Regions from separate parts of the Homo sapiens genome. Here all the other regions are linked to region 1. The links are contacts of gene promoters, found by promoter capture Hi-C in blood cells and fetal thymus (Javierre and others, 2016). All regions are on one chromosome and are shown on one strand. Each heading gives the region's core, a stretch centred on a gene start or on the middle of the fragment in contact. The rest is flanking DNA. Distances are from core to core; before and after follow the strand shown. Region 1 holds the start of COA1 (cytochrome c oxidase assembly factor 1). Region 2 overlaps GLI3 (GLI family zinc finger 3). Region 3 holds the start of TBRG4 (transforming growth factor beta regulator 4).

Region 1 (3,769 bases), core at 377-2,876:
AATGTAAAATTTAGACGACAAAAAAATTCTGTGTGATGACTGGTTTAATCAGTATCATTTTGATTCTGGGAACAGGGCAGCTATCTGAATAAAATAAGGATTTTGGTACAAAGGAGTTAGAGGAAAATGAATATTGGATAGGTAACATTATTCACTATAGAGTTTTGTTTTTAATGTAAAATTTAGACGAAAACTTTAGCAGATTTAAGTCCAGTGATAGAAATGTTAAGTTCTGAGTTTTCAAGCAAATGGTCAGAAAAGCCTATTTAATGTTTTATTACTTACAAAGTAAACATATTTCTCTTTCTGGTACAGAACGGGAGCTAATTGATCTCGGGTTCATTTTCATGAACGTTGTATGAAATGCACATATACCAAACCTCATAAGCTTTTTATTAGTTGATTTATTCTTTGAAATATTAAGCTTGGTGTAAGGTATTATAACCTCAATCTCTTTGAAAATGTAATAAGTCAATAATCAATGTTGCATCAATGAATATTACTCAGTGGATGCCTATTTTATTTCTTCTTTTTCTCTAAGAACCATTTAAATAGTCCTTATGGCCGAGCACTTCACAATCTGATTAGTTTCTATTAATTCTTTGGAAAAGAAACATTCTGGGAAGTCAGAATTCAGCGGTAGGTTGCTTTGATAATGTGCTCATTTAGCTAGTGGATTCCAGAGTGATAGAATGTATGTTTGGCAACCTAATTGTTGTGGAGGAAGAAAAGAACTTCTGTTAGAAGTTTTTAAAAAAGTTTAAAAATTGTTTTTACCTCATCAAAAGTTTGATGTCTTGTGAGTTTTATAGCATGCATAATATATTAATGCCATACATGACACATGTAAATATATATATATTTTTTCTGATAGGGATGTGTGAGCAAGAGTTTAAAGAAGAATGCCCCAGTCTAAAGTTAATTAGTCTTGGAGTGATGGCTTCGCAGAGGAAAGATACTGGATTTCAAGCTTGACATTAAGGTGATAATAGTGGTGACTATGGAATAATCAATATAAAAATAATAACAGCTAACAGTTACTGAGCGCCTACAAACTGCCAGACACTACTCTAAGTGCTTCACATCCTCATAACAAATTTATGAGGTAAATGCTATTATTATCCACCAGCCTTCTGAAATTTTCTTACCCCGTTACTCCCTGGTGTTAACTGGGTACTTAATTTGTCGAATAAAATAAAATTTAGTGCTGCCAAATTTGTCAGCTGAACGGGGCGGCAGGAATTTCAGTGCTAGAGTGGGGGGCCAGACGGCCCGGGGCTTCGTGTCCTTGGAGGCCAGCGGAAGCGCCGCATACCTGTGAGGAGCAACGTGAGCCGGTGGCTTATATTTCCTGGGCTAGTGCTACTGGACTGAATGCATTTGCAATAACCGGACGCAGAAAAAAAAAAAAAAAGCGGGGACCAGGGGAGGCGAAACCCTTCCCGGCGCGAGTCCGAGCGTCTGAGAAGCAGAAGCCACACGTCCCGGCGACCTAAGTTCTGGATCAGCCGGCCGGAGGACCCGTGTTAGCATTTACAATCCGAGGTGAGCTGAAGCCTCCGGTTGTCCCGGTTCGACGCTCTAGCCCTGCGAGCAGCCGACGCCGGAAGTCTCTACTGCTCCCCGCTGGCGCGCAGGACCGCGGGCATTTACCCGTGCTTTCCCAAGCCTGGAAGAACTCGTCATGCTCTTTGTAGCGTGGTGCTTCTGTTGCTCACAGGTTAGTCTCCCGCGGTATAAGAGTCTCCGTCTTCCCCCCAGCAAGAAGCGTTTGTTCCTGCAATTCGGGGGGCCGCCTTTGCGCGCGGGGTGCGCTGCTTCTTGGAGAGTTCCCTCACGGGTCACATCGCGGAGGTTCGCGCCGGCGCCGGGTCGCGGCCTCCCTGCGCAGCTTCTTTGGCACCTGGTAACCTTCAGTGGCTCCGTCCGCTCGGAGTTAGGAGGCTGTGTCGAGCTAACCTTGACCTTGTCCTGCAGTTTTTGCTGACCATCCCCAACAGCACACTGTAAAGAGTTAGGGTCCTCTCGAAGAGTTGGGACTGGGCACTTTTGTTGGTAGTGCTAAATTTCAACACCCTGAGGAGTACGCTGCCCAAATTATTGTAGGAAAGAATTACCTGGTTTAGTGGTTATAATACTTTTTGTCCCCACCACACTTGAATAACAGAAAAACCCTCCCAACAGGGGCTGACTGCAAAAGTGATTTTCTGTGTAGGGGACATTGGATGTATTTATGTATATATCAGTGCCTATCAGTCTGTATGTGTGTTTGGGGGTGGATGCTGTGTAATTTAAAAAAATCTATGGAGATTCTGATAATTTGATAACCTGTTTCTCCGGTCTTCCCCTGATTCCTCCCCATTCTCCCCGGAGGGCTATTGCTTTATTTCTGAGGTGGCTCACGTTTGGATAGAAGTAGCAACTCTCCGCTTACACCTGCACGTTTAAAACGCATATCAGATTGTGTTATTTCTGTCCTCAGAATCTTCCTGGCCTTCCCGTTGCTTTCAGGATAATACACATTTCTTAGCCTAACTTCAAGGGCCTACAGGGTCTTGATTCTGCTGAGTTTTTCAGTCTTTGCTACTTTCATGGAAAACACACCTGCAGGTACACTCATATTATGCTCCCACCATGCCAGTCTACGGTAATTTAATAACTTTAGATATGGCAAAGTTTTATATGGTTTACTCAAGTTTTAATTTTTGTTCTAGCATTTAGCCAAAATCGATTGAATTCATAATATTGCTAGGCACTGTTTTAAAAACGGGATAAAATGAAAACAAAACAAAACACAAAACAAAAGTCTTCAGTCCTTTAAAAAAATAAAACAGCTTCCTGACACATAGTTCACCTACCGTAGAGTTCACCATTTAAAACGTAGCGGTGCCTCACGCCTGTAATCCCAGCACTTTGGGAGGCCGAGGCGGGTGGATCACGAGGTCAGGAGATCAAGACCGTCCTGGCTAACACGGTGAAACCCCGTCTCCACTAAAAATACAAAAAATTAGCCGGGCGTGGTGGCGGGAGCCTGTAGTCCCAGCTACTTGGGAGGCTGAGGCAGGAGGATGGTGTGAACCCGGGAGGTGGAGCTTGCAGTGAGCCGAGATTGCGCCACTGCACTCCAGCCTGGGCGAGAGAGCTAGACTCCATCTCAAAAAAAAAAAAAAAGAAAGAAAACCTAAAAGTAATTAGTACATTAGTACATTCACAAAGTTGTACAACCATCATCATAAAATATGCTGTAATCTTCTTCACCTTCATTAGTTGGTTTAATTTTCTATTTCAGACAGACTCCAATAAGTTATTCTTGTATTCTTTTGTTCATGTTTAATATGCTGCATTCAGTTTGTGAGAGCCATATTGGAACAATTGAACATTTTCATCACTCCAAAAGGAAACCCTGTACTTATTCAGCAGGCTCACCTGACTTCCCCATCCCCACTCCCCATTCTAAGCCCTAAGCAACTATGAATTGACTGACTGTATATTTGACTATTCTGGATTATTCATGTGAGTGAAATCATACAGCATGTGGTCTTTTTCAACTGGCTTCTTTTACTTAACATTCATGTTCATCTGTGTTGTATTTAATAGCATGTGTCAGTACTTTTTTTTATTGCTGGTTAATCTTTTATGGGTATTACCACGATTTATTTTCCATTAGTTAGTGGACGTTTGGATTGTTTCCACCTTTTGGCCATTATGTGTAATGCTGCTGTGAACATTCACCTACAAGTTTTTGTGTGGACATCATGTTTTCATTTCT
Region 2 (3,769 bases), core at 1-2,500, 1.8 Mb after region 1:
ATCGCGCCAAACACCAAAACAGAACGCATTCCAATGAGGTAAGCATCCTCAGTGGGCATGGAGCTTGCATAAGGAAACAAAGAACTATCCCGGGGAAGGCACATGGGAAGGCGCAGTGTGTTCTGTTTTGTTTTCCCCTTGGCCATTCCCAGCATGAGGGGCTCTGCCCCTGCAGGTGAAGGCTTGAGCTTCCTAGGTGGGACTGGAAACTGGATCTTATTTGGAGAATAATAAGAGATGAGGAGGAAACTTCTTAAAACCCCTGCGAACTTACTAGTTTCATGTTGTTTTGAACTGCCACCTACTGGTCAAACAGTGGGAGCATTTGACTTGGAATCTGAGCCAGTCACGCTGCCCAAAATAGCAGGAATCCATGCAAAGGATGACCCCATAAGCCCCAAGGATATATTAAGAAGTAGCATGTTGACAGCTGACAGCTTCCTGCTAAGTCATCCACTTTTATTTGCTTCCTCCAAGTGGTATCTTCAAATGGTATTATATCAAAAAAGATTTTTACAGAGCAACCAGCCTTGGCTAAATGCAATTTTCAGACATTCTAAATTCCAAAGGATCTTGGAAAATGGTCTCAGAAACCCAGAATACTTTCTAGGCAGTTACTTAAGAAAACATATTGAGTAAAGCTTCAGGGTGATTCCTGTTGTGTTACTGTTATTTTTAGGTAGCGATCCCCCCTAAATTGTAGAGAGGCATAAGAATAAAAATTATTCCAAATTCATTGCTTACATTTTAGTGAACATCTTCCTACAGACTTCCAATTTGGCCTTGGAGGTCTAGCTCAAATTCTGGCTTGTCTGTGAAATCTTCTCTTGAATGTATTGAGAGATTAACAAAAGGACTCCCCACATTTTGAGTGGAAATAGGATAGCTAACCAGAATTTGTTAACATGAGACATAGTTCAGCACCACAGCGTGTCATCAGTTTGCTTGAAATGTGTTAGAGAAGGAACATCGTGCACACATGAGACCCTGGAGTGGCTGTCATTTCATCTCACCAGTGCAGGTCAAACACATTCATGATCTTTCAGACAGAGAGCTGGGCAGAGAGAATCTTGATAGAAACAAAGTGAGCCATTCTGCTCAGTGGACTTTTGGCTTTAAGGTGGCAAAGATGGTTCTCACCATGTTTTCTTCAGCTGAAACTGACAGAGCAAAAACATCTCTAAAGGGATTAACTGCACTCTGTAAAAAGCACACTCACTCATAAACTCACACATGTAAGTTCATATATATACCAACTTTCTGTGTGAAAAGGTCATGGAAACTGGAGTTATTCGGAATCTCATTTTCTAACTGTTTGAAGACATTTTAAAGATGCCACATCTCCATTTTTAATGTAAAAATGCTTTTACAGTATGCAGTAGCTGGAATATAATCTATTACACTTGTTTTGTACAAAATTTTAGGGAGTCTAGAATAGATAGATACATAGAGATAGAAAGTAGATCAGTGGTTGCCAAAAGCAGAGGGGAGAGGGAATAGTGATGACTGCTAATGGATACAAGGTTTTTTTGTTGGGGTGGTGAAGATATTCTGGAATTAGGTAATGGTGATGATTACACAATGTCTAGAATGTACTAATGCCACTGAATTGTGCAATTTAAAGGGATTATTTTTATGGCATGTGAATTATATTTCAATTTAAAATTTTAAGGGGTTTTGACTTAACAGAATGTATTTCATATATTTCATAGATTTAAGTGTAATTTTGACTAGAAATTTAGGGGGCATTCATTCCTATAGATGTTAGGCCAATGCTGTCTCCTATTATCATGGAGAAGTTTGGACAGAGGGTATGTTAGGATCAGAATGCACACATATAAAGACAATTACCAAGCTTTTTTGTCTTTTTATGGACCTAAAATATTTGTACATGTCTGTTTGCTTTAATTGTGGTGTAGTTGAGCTTGTGTTCTTCTCCAAGGTAAAAAGTGCAATGTTGTGTGAGAGTTGAGTGTTTGTTATAAGATTAAAAGATAAGGATATCTTGGGTAGTAATGTCATTGACCACACTTGAGCAATTTACTTAAATTACTAACTTTTATCATAAATACATAATTAAAATTCTACCCACAGACATATTTACAAACAAATTATACTTCTCTCTTCTATATGCAAGACTTTGGCCCTGTGTGTGACTGATGGACATTTTCAGACGCATCAAAACTAAGTTTGTCCAGGAAATCCAGATTTGTGCAATTTCACAATCCTAGATGAATCAAGTGATTTGCCTTCATTTATTTCCTCTCTTATTTGCAACTTCATTTATTCATTGAACAAATACTTAAAGCTATTTATGTGCCAAGCCCTTTGCTGTTCTAAGTGTGGCCAAGAAAATAATGGACTGTAATGGGAAGGGAGTAATTGCTGGCACTTCTCTGTTCCTCTGGCTGTCCTGCTCATTTAGGGCTGCTAGACTGACCGTAGCTCTGACAGGACTTCTTACTCCAGATCAGACAGCTCATTTTTCCCCCAAAGATACCGCTAAACAAGTTTCCTGAGCTCTGATTCGGTTGAACCTCCCTCTCTAGAAAGCTGCAATGGCTCCCTCTTTCCTATAGGGAGACTTGAGACTCCCTAAGGTTGTGTAAGTGTCAGTTCTCACAGGGCCCAAGCTCATCCCTCTAGTCCTGACCTCTCACTATCATGACCATGAATGAAACCTTCCAGAAGCTGGTGCTGTGCACTGCCATGCTTAGGTGCATGAAGTGGTTCTGCCACTGGACCTTTGCTGAGGACACTTCTTTTTGGCATCCCAAGTAAAATGACTCCTAATAAAAGCTCTGTATATTGAGTGCTTACTATGTTCCATGCATCCTGGTAAGCACTTCATGTACATGATCTAATTTAGCACTTACTGATAATCCCGTGAGCTGGGCATTAAGCCCAGATATAGAATCTTAATAACTGATGCCTCCCATGATTATCCTAGCTGAAAAATGATCCCTCCTCTGTCTATATCCTTACATAGCTTTCACACTTTATATTACAGATCATTGCATCTTCTTATTTTTCCTATCAGATTTTGTATTCCTTATGATTAAATTTTGTTGTATGCAACTTTGTGCTTGCAGAATCTTGCACTTCAGTAAGTCTGAGAACATTTTTCTTAGTCTCTAATTATATTTTATTTCAGTCACTGATCACAACAAAATTTGTGGGCAAAAGTTGTGTGAAGGGTTAATATATTTTGTTTATGTTATGTTGTTGTGAGGTATACATTTCCTGAACCTGTATTCTTGTGAATTTGTGAATTTTTGTGGGTAGATAATGTGTATGTTCACACACAAGGGCACACGGGCACAGGTGCACCTGTATGGGCTGTTGTTTCTGGAAGTGCAGGAGCCGACACATTTGTATCTCATTACATATTGGCTGCGTCCTTGGTTCTAAGCTAACCCATAATGTACATCCATATATTTACAGGAAGAGTAGCTCTCCAAACATGCAGGCTTTGTGCTCCCTCTCTCCTTCTGGTCTCCATACCTCTGCCCCATATATCCCAGTCTGCCTGTTGATGGAACAACCTGTCACAGGAATGCTGTGAGCAAGCATAGGGCCTGTGTCAGAACACTGTAAGGTAATGGCACTAATTATCAGAGCCAGTCTTTTGTCCCTAATGCATAGAATTTGATGTGCTCATCTTATTATATATATATATGCTGCAAATCACACAAGCTCCTGAATAGATGTAATTCATAGTTAATGGGAATCAATTCTGCCCAAAGGAGTCTCAGGTTTGGAGGTGAAA
Region 3 (3,769 bases), core at 532-3,031, 1.4 Mb before region 1:
CTATAAATCTGTTGTAATATTGTCTTTTGACAGACAACTTGTGAAGGATTTGGAGTAGAATTTGTGATAAATACATGGAATCTTAATTAACTGTTAACAGAAAAATCAAACTCTGTAAATTACTTAAAGAGGTTTATTCAGGGCCAATGAGTGACCACAGCCCCAGGAAAATACAAACCCAAAAAGCCTTAAGTGTTCCCGAGGCAGTCAGATTATAGTTTGGTTTTATACATTTCAGGGAGCCAGGGGTTACAGGCAAAGACATAAATCAATGTGTGGAAGGTATACACTGGTTTGGCTCCAAAAGACAGGATGTCTTGATGTGGGGGGTTTACAAGTTATATGTGGACTCAAATACATAGATATATACACGATATATGATTGATTGATAGATAGATAGATAGATCTCTTGGTAGGGGTAGATAGGGTCTCCCTATGTTGCCCAGGCTAGTCTTGAACTCTTGGCCTCAAGTGATCCTCCCACCTCAGCCAGCTTGACCAAGAGATTTTTTAATTTGCAACTGGTTAAAAGAGTGAGGCTCTGTGTAAAATTTGGAGTCAGCAGAAAAGAATGTTTAAGATAGTATGCCAGAATCAGCCACAATACACTGGGTCAAAAAAGACCTCTTCAGCAAGATTGATGGTCTGCAAGCTTGACTTAACCCTTGCCTTGCACGGCCTTAGGTCTTGTTTATAATTTGGTATCTTACTACCACAAAGTCTGTTAGTCTTATGATCTCTACTTTAACAAGGGGTGTTCAACCTCCCTTTCCAGAATGGCTGGGAACTCAGTTTTTAAGGTTTCTCTGGGGTCTCCTTGGCTAAGAGGAGGTCCGTTCAGTGCTTGGGGGGCTTACAATTTTATTTTTAGTTTACAAACACAAACAAACGTAATTATTTATTTTTATGTTTTTTGTTTTGTTTTTTGCGACAGAGTCTTGCTCTGTCAACCAGGCTGAGTGCAGTGGCAAGATCGCTGCTCACTGCAACCTCCACCTCCCGGATTCAAGCGATTCTCATGCCTCAGCCTCCCTAGTAGCTGGGACTACAGGTGCGCCCTACCACGCCCGGCTAATTTTTTTGTATTTTTAGTAGAGACGGGGTTTCGCCATGTTGGCCAAGCTGGTCTCGAACTCCTGAACTCAAGTGATCCGCCCACCGAGGCCTGGGATTACAGGCGTGAGCCACCGTGCGTAGCCAAGTAATTATTAACTCCACAGAAAATAAAAGGCTGTGCAGGAAGTAAAAATTAATCAAGTCCATATATAGACCTCAGATACATTTCGTTTGGGCTATCCTGCACTTTACTTTGTAATTAAACACCACTATTTAAAAATCAGGAAAATTGCACATAAAAATCCAGCTGCAAGTGGGCGCTCTGGAGTTCCCCAGTCTCCACTCACTCGTCCTCCCAGCCCCCACAGGCCTCAACGTCGCCTATCCCACTCCACCAGCCCAGTCTTCCACCGCCCTAGGAACTCTCCTACGCCTACGCAAGCAGGGAGGGATAGGGTGACAGCACCGACAACAAAGGGTCGTCTCCCGCACTCCGTATGAGGATGGCGTACTGGTCGGGGGGCAACCGAAGCCTTTCTTCCTAGGTTCTTTATCTTTTCTAAGTTTCCCATGACCTATCGCTCCGCTTGAGCCCTCAGCAAAGATGTCACCCGCCGAAAGGTGTGGCCGGAAGCTGGAGGCGTGGCTTCCGGACGTGCGGGGCGAGGCTCGTCTCGTTTCCGCCGGCGCTCCGAGTGACGTAGGGAAGCGCGCCGCGCACCTCATGGTTCCGGGGACAGTTAGGGCGGCGGATGGAGGTCAGCGGTGGTGCTCGCTGCGTAGGTCTTGTGGCACGGGGAGAAGGGGCGGCTGATCGTGGGTTTCGAGTGCACAACACAGGCGTGGCTGGGAAGGTCCTGGGATGCGGTGGAACTGGGGAGCAGGCTGGGACGCGGTGGGATGCCGTGGGCCTGGCCGTCTGCTCGTTCCGTGCTGGCTTGCCAGTGCGCACGCTTCCTCTCTAGCCCGCGCGGCCAGGCCTGGAAGACGCCGCCCCTGTTGACCGTCCATGACCCCAGCGAGCCAGTTTTCGTGACTTAGTGCAAGTTGTTTTCTCTCTGCATTTTAGAACTAAAGTTTTGGATTGCTGTTTGCCTAAACTCAAGTCTGGCTCCTGGGCTTCCGTTTACTCGGCTAAACTGCTCTTAGGGCTCTTAAAAAATTGGAAAGGCGGCCGGGCGCGGTGGCTCACTCCGGTAATCCCAGCACTTTGGGAGGCCGAGACGGGTGGATCACTTGAGGTCATGGTGAAACCCTGTCTCTACTAAAAATACAAAAATTAGCCAGGTGTGGTGGCGCGGGCCTGTAGTCCCAGCTATTTGGGAGGCTGAGGCAGGAGAATCGCTTGAATCCGGGAGGCTGAGGTTGCAGTGACTCGAGATCGCAGCATTGCACTCCAGTCTGGGCGACAGAGCGAGACTCCGTCTCAAAAAAATAAGTCGGAAAGATTTCTACACTGTGCTTAGGCTCAGGAAGTGGTAGATGTTGCGTTTGGGCAAATACTCCGACTCTCTGATCTCTCTCTCTTTTTTTTTTTCTTTAAGTGGAGTTAGACTAAGCTTTTTACAGCTGCTTTAATCCCCTCATATAAAAAGAAAATGTGCTGGCCATATACCAAGTTCCAGGAAGTGGAGAAAGATCAAACGTACATTCTGCTTTGGCAGAAATGAGGCCTAGGTGAACGTTTTATCTTGCCCTTGTCGCATGTCTTCCCTGGATCATGTAATCACCGTAGGGAGCTAGACTAGCTGATAGAATTTTTTTTCTTTTTTTTTTTTTTTGTGACAGAGTCTCGCTCTGCCACCCAGGCTGGAGTGCAGTGGCGCGATCTCGGCTCACTTCAAGCTCTGCCTCACCCTCCCTAGTAGCTGGGACTACAGGTGCCCGCCACCACGCCCGGCTAATTTTTTTGTATTTTTAGTAGAGACGGTGTTTCACCGTGTTAGCCAGGATGGTCTCGATCTCCTGACCTCGTGATCTGCCCGCCTCAGCCTCCCAAAGTACTGGGATTACAGGCGTGAGCCACTGCGCCTGGCCGATAGAATTGTTAAAAGCAACATCAAGGCTATATGTAACACATTGCTGGAGATGGCAACATTGAGTTTGGCCTTGGAAGGATGAGATGTATTTTAAAGGGTCTTATAGGGGGAGGAGGAGACCCAGATAACAAGCCCTGTAAGGTGAAGTGGAAGTGCAAGGCCTGTTTAAAATGGGGCCTTGTGTTGCTGGGAGGCAGAAAAAGCTAAGACTGAGAAAATCATTCTGGGCCATGTTATGAAGTGCTTCTTATTATTGGTTCAGAATTTTTGCTGTTAGAAATTTGGTGGGGGGGTTTTAGTAGGCTAGTGATGTAATCTACCTTGGTTTCGAGAGGCTCACACCTATGTCTACAGTGTTAAAATATATCCACAGAGGCTTTGGGAATGTGAATTTTTTTTTTTTTTTTTTTTTGAGATGGAGTCTCTCACCCAGGCTGGAGTCCAGTGGTGCAATCTCAGCTCACTGCAATCTCCGCCTCTCAGGTTCAAGCAATTCTTGTGCCTTAGCCTCCCAAGTAGCTGGGATTACAGGCGTGCACCATGATGCCCAGCTAATTTTTATATTTTTAGTAAAGATGGGGTTTCACCATGTTGGCCAGGCTGGTCTCAAACTCCTGACCTCAAGTGATCCACCCGCCTAGGCCTCCCAAAGTGCTGGGATTACAGGCGTGAGC

The links. Contacts are between HindIII fragments. The CHiCAGO score rates a contact against its expected background, and 5 or more counts as called.
Region 2: a fragment that was not itself captured here is called in contact with the fragment with the promoter of COA1 in region 1 in 2 of 17 cell types (total B cells and naive B cells); the score reaches 7.8 in total B cells.
Region 3: a contact is called between the fragment with the promoter of TBRG4 here and the fragment with the promoter of COA1 in region 1, in 11 of 17 cell types (total CD4 T cells, activated CD4 T cells, fetal thymus and 8 more). The highest score is 19.7, in total CD4 T cells.

What each region holds. Positions count from the first base shown.
Region 1 is chr7:43,727,380-43,731,148 of GRCh38, reverse strand. It overlaps COA1 (cytochrome c oxidase assembly factor 1), which reads left to right and starts at 1,626. Exons shown (of 6, transcript NM_018224.4): 1 at 1,626-1,720. RefSeq lists enhancers at 1,316-1,515, 882-1,610, 1,611-2,340. The HindIII fragment of the contact is 9,306 bases long and covers 973-3,769 here.
Region 2 is chr7:41,973,827-41,977,595 of GRCh38, reverse strand. It overlaps GLI3 (GLI family zinc finger 3), which reads left to right. Exons shown (of 15, transcript NM_000168.6): 12 at 1-38. Among named protein-coding and RNA genes, the nearest start is that of GLI3, 260 kb to the left of the region's middle. The HindIII fragment of the contact is 1,214 bases long and covers 644-1,857 here.
Region 3 is chr7:45,109,709-45,113,477 of GRCh38, reverse strand. It overlaps TBRG4 (transforming growth factor beta regulator 4), which reads left to right and starts at 1,781. Exons shown (of 11, transcript NM_004749.4): 1 at 1,781-1,835. RefSeq lists enhancers at 1,254-2,009, 1,373-2,082. The HindIII fragment of the contact is 1,963 bases long and covers 655-2,617 here.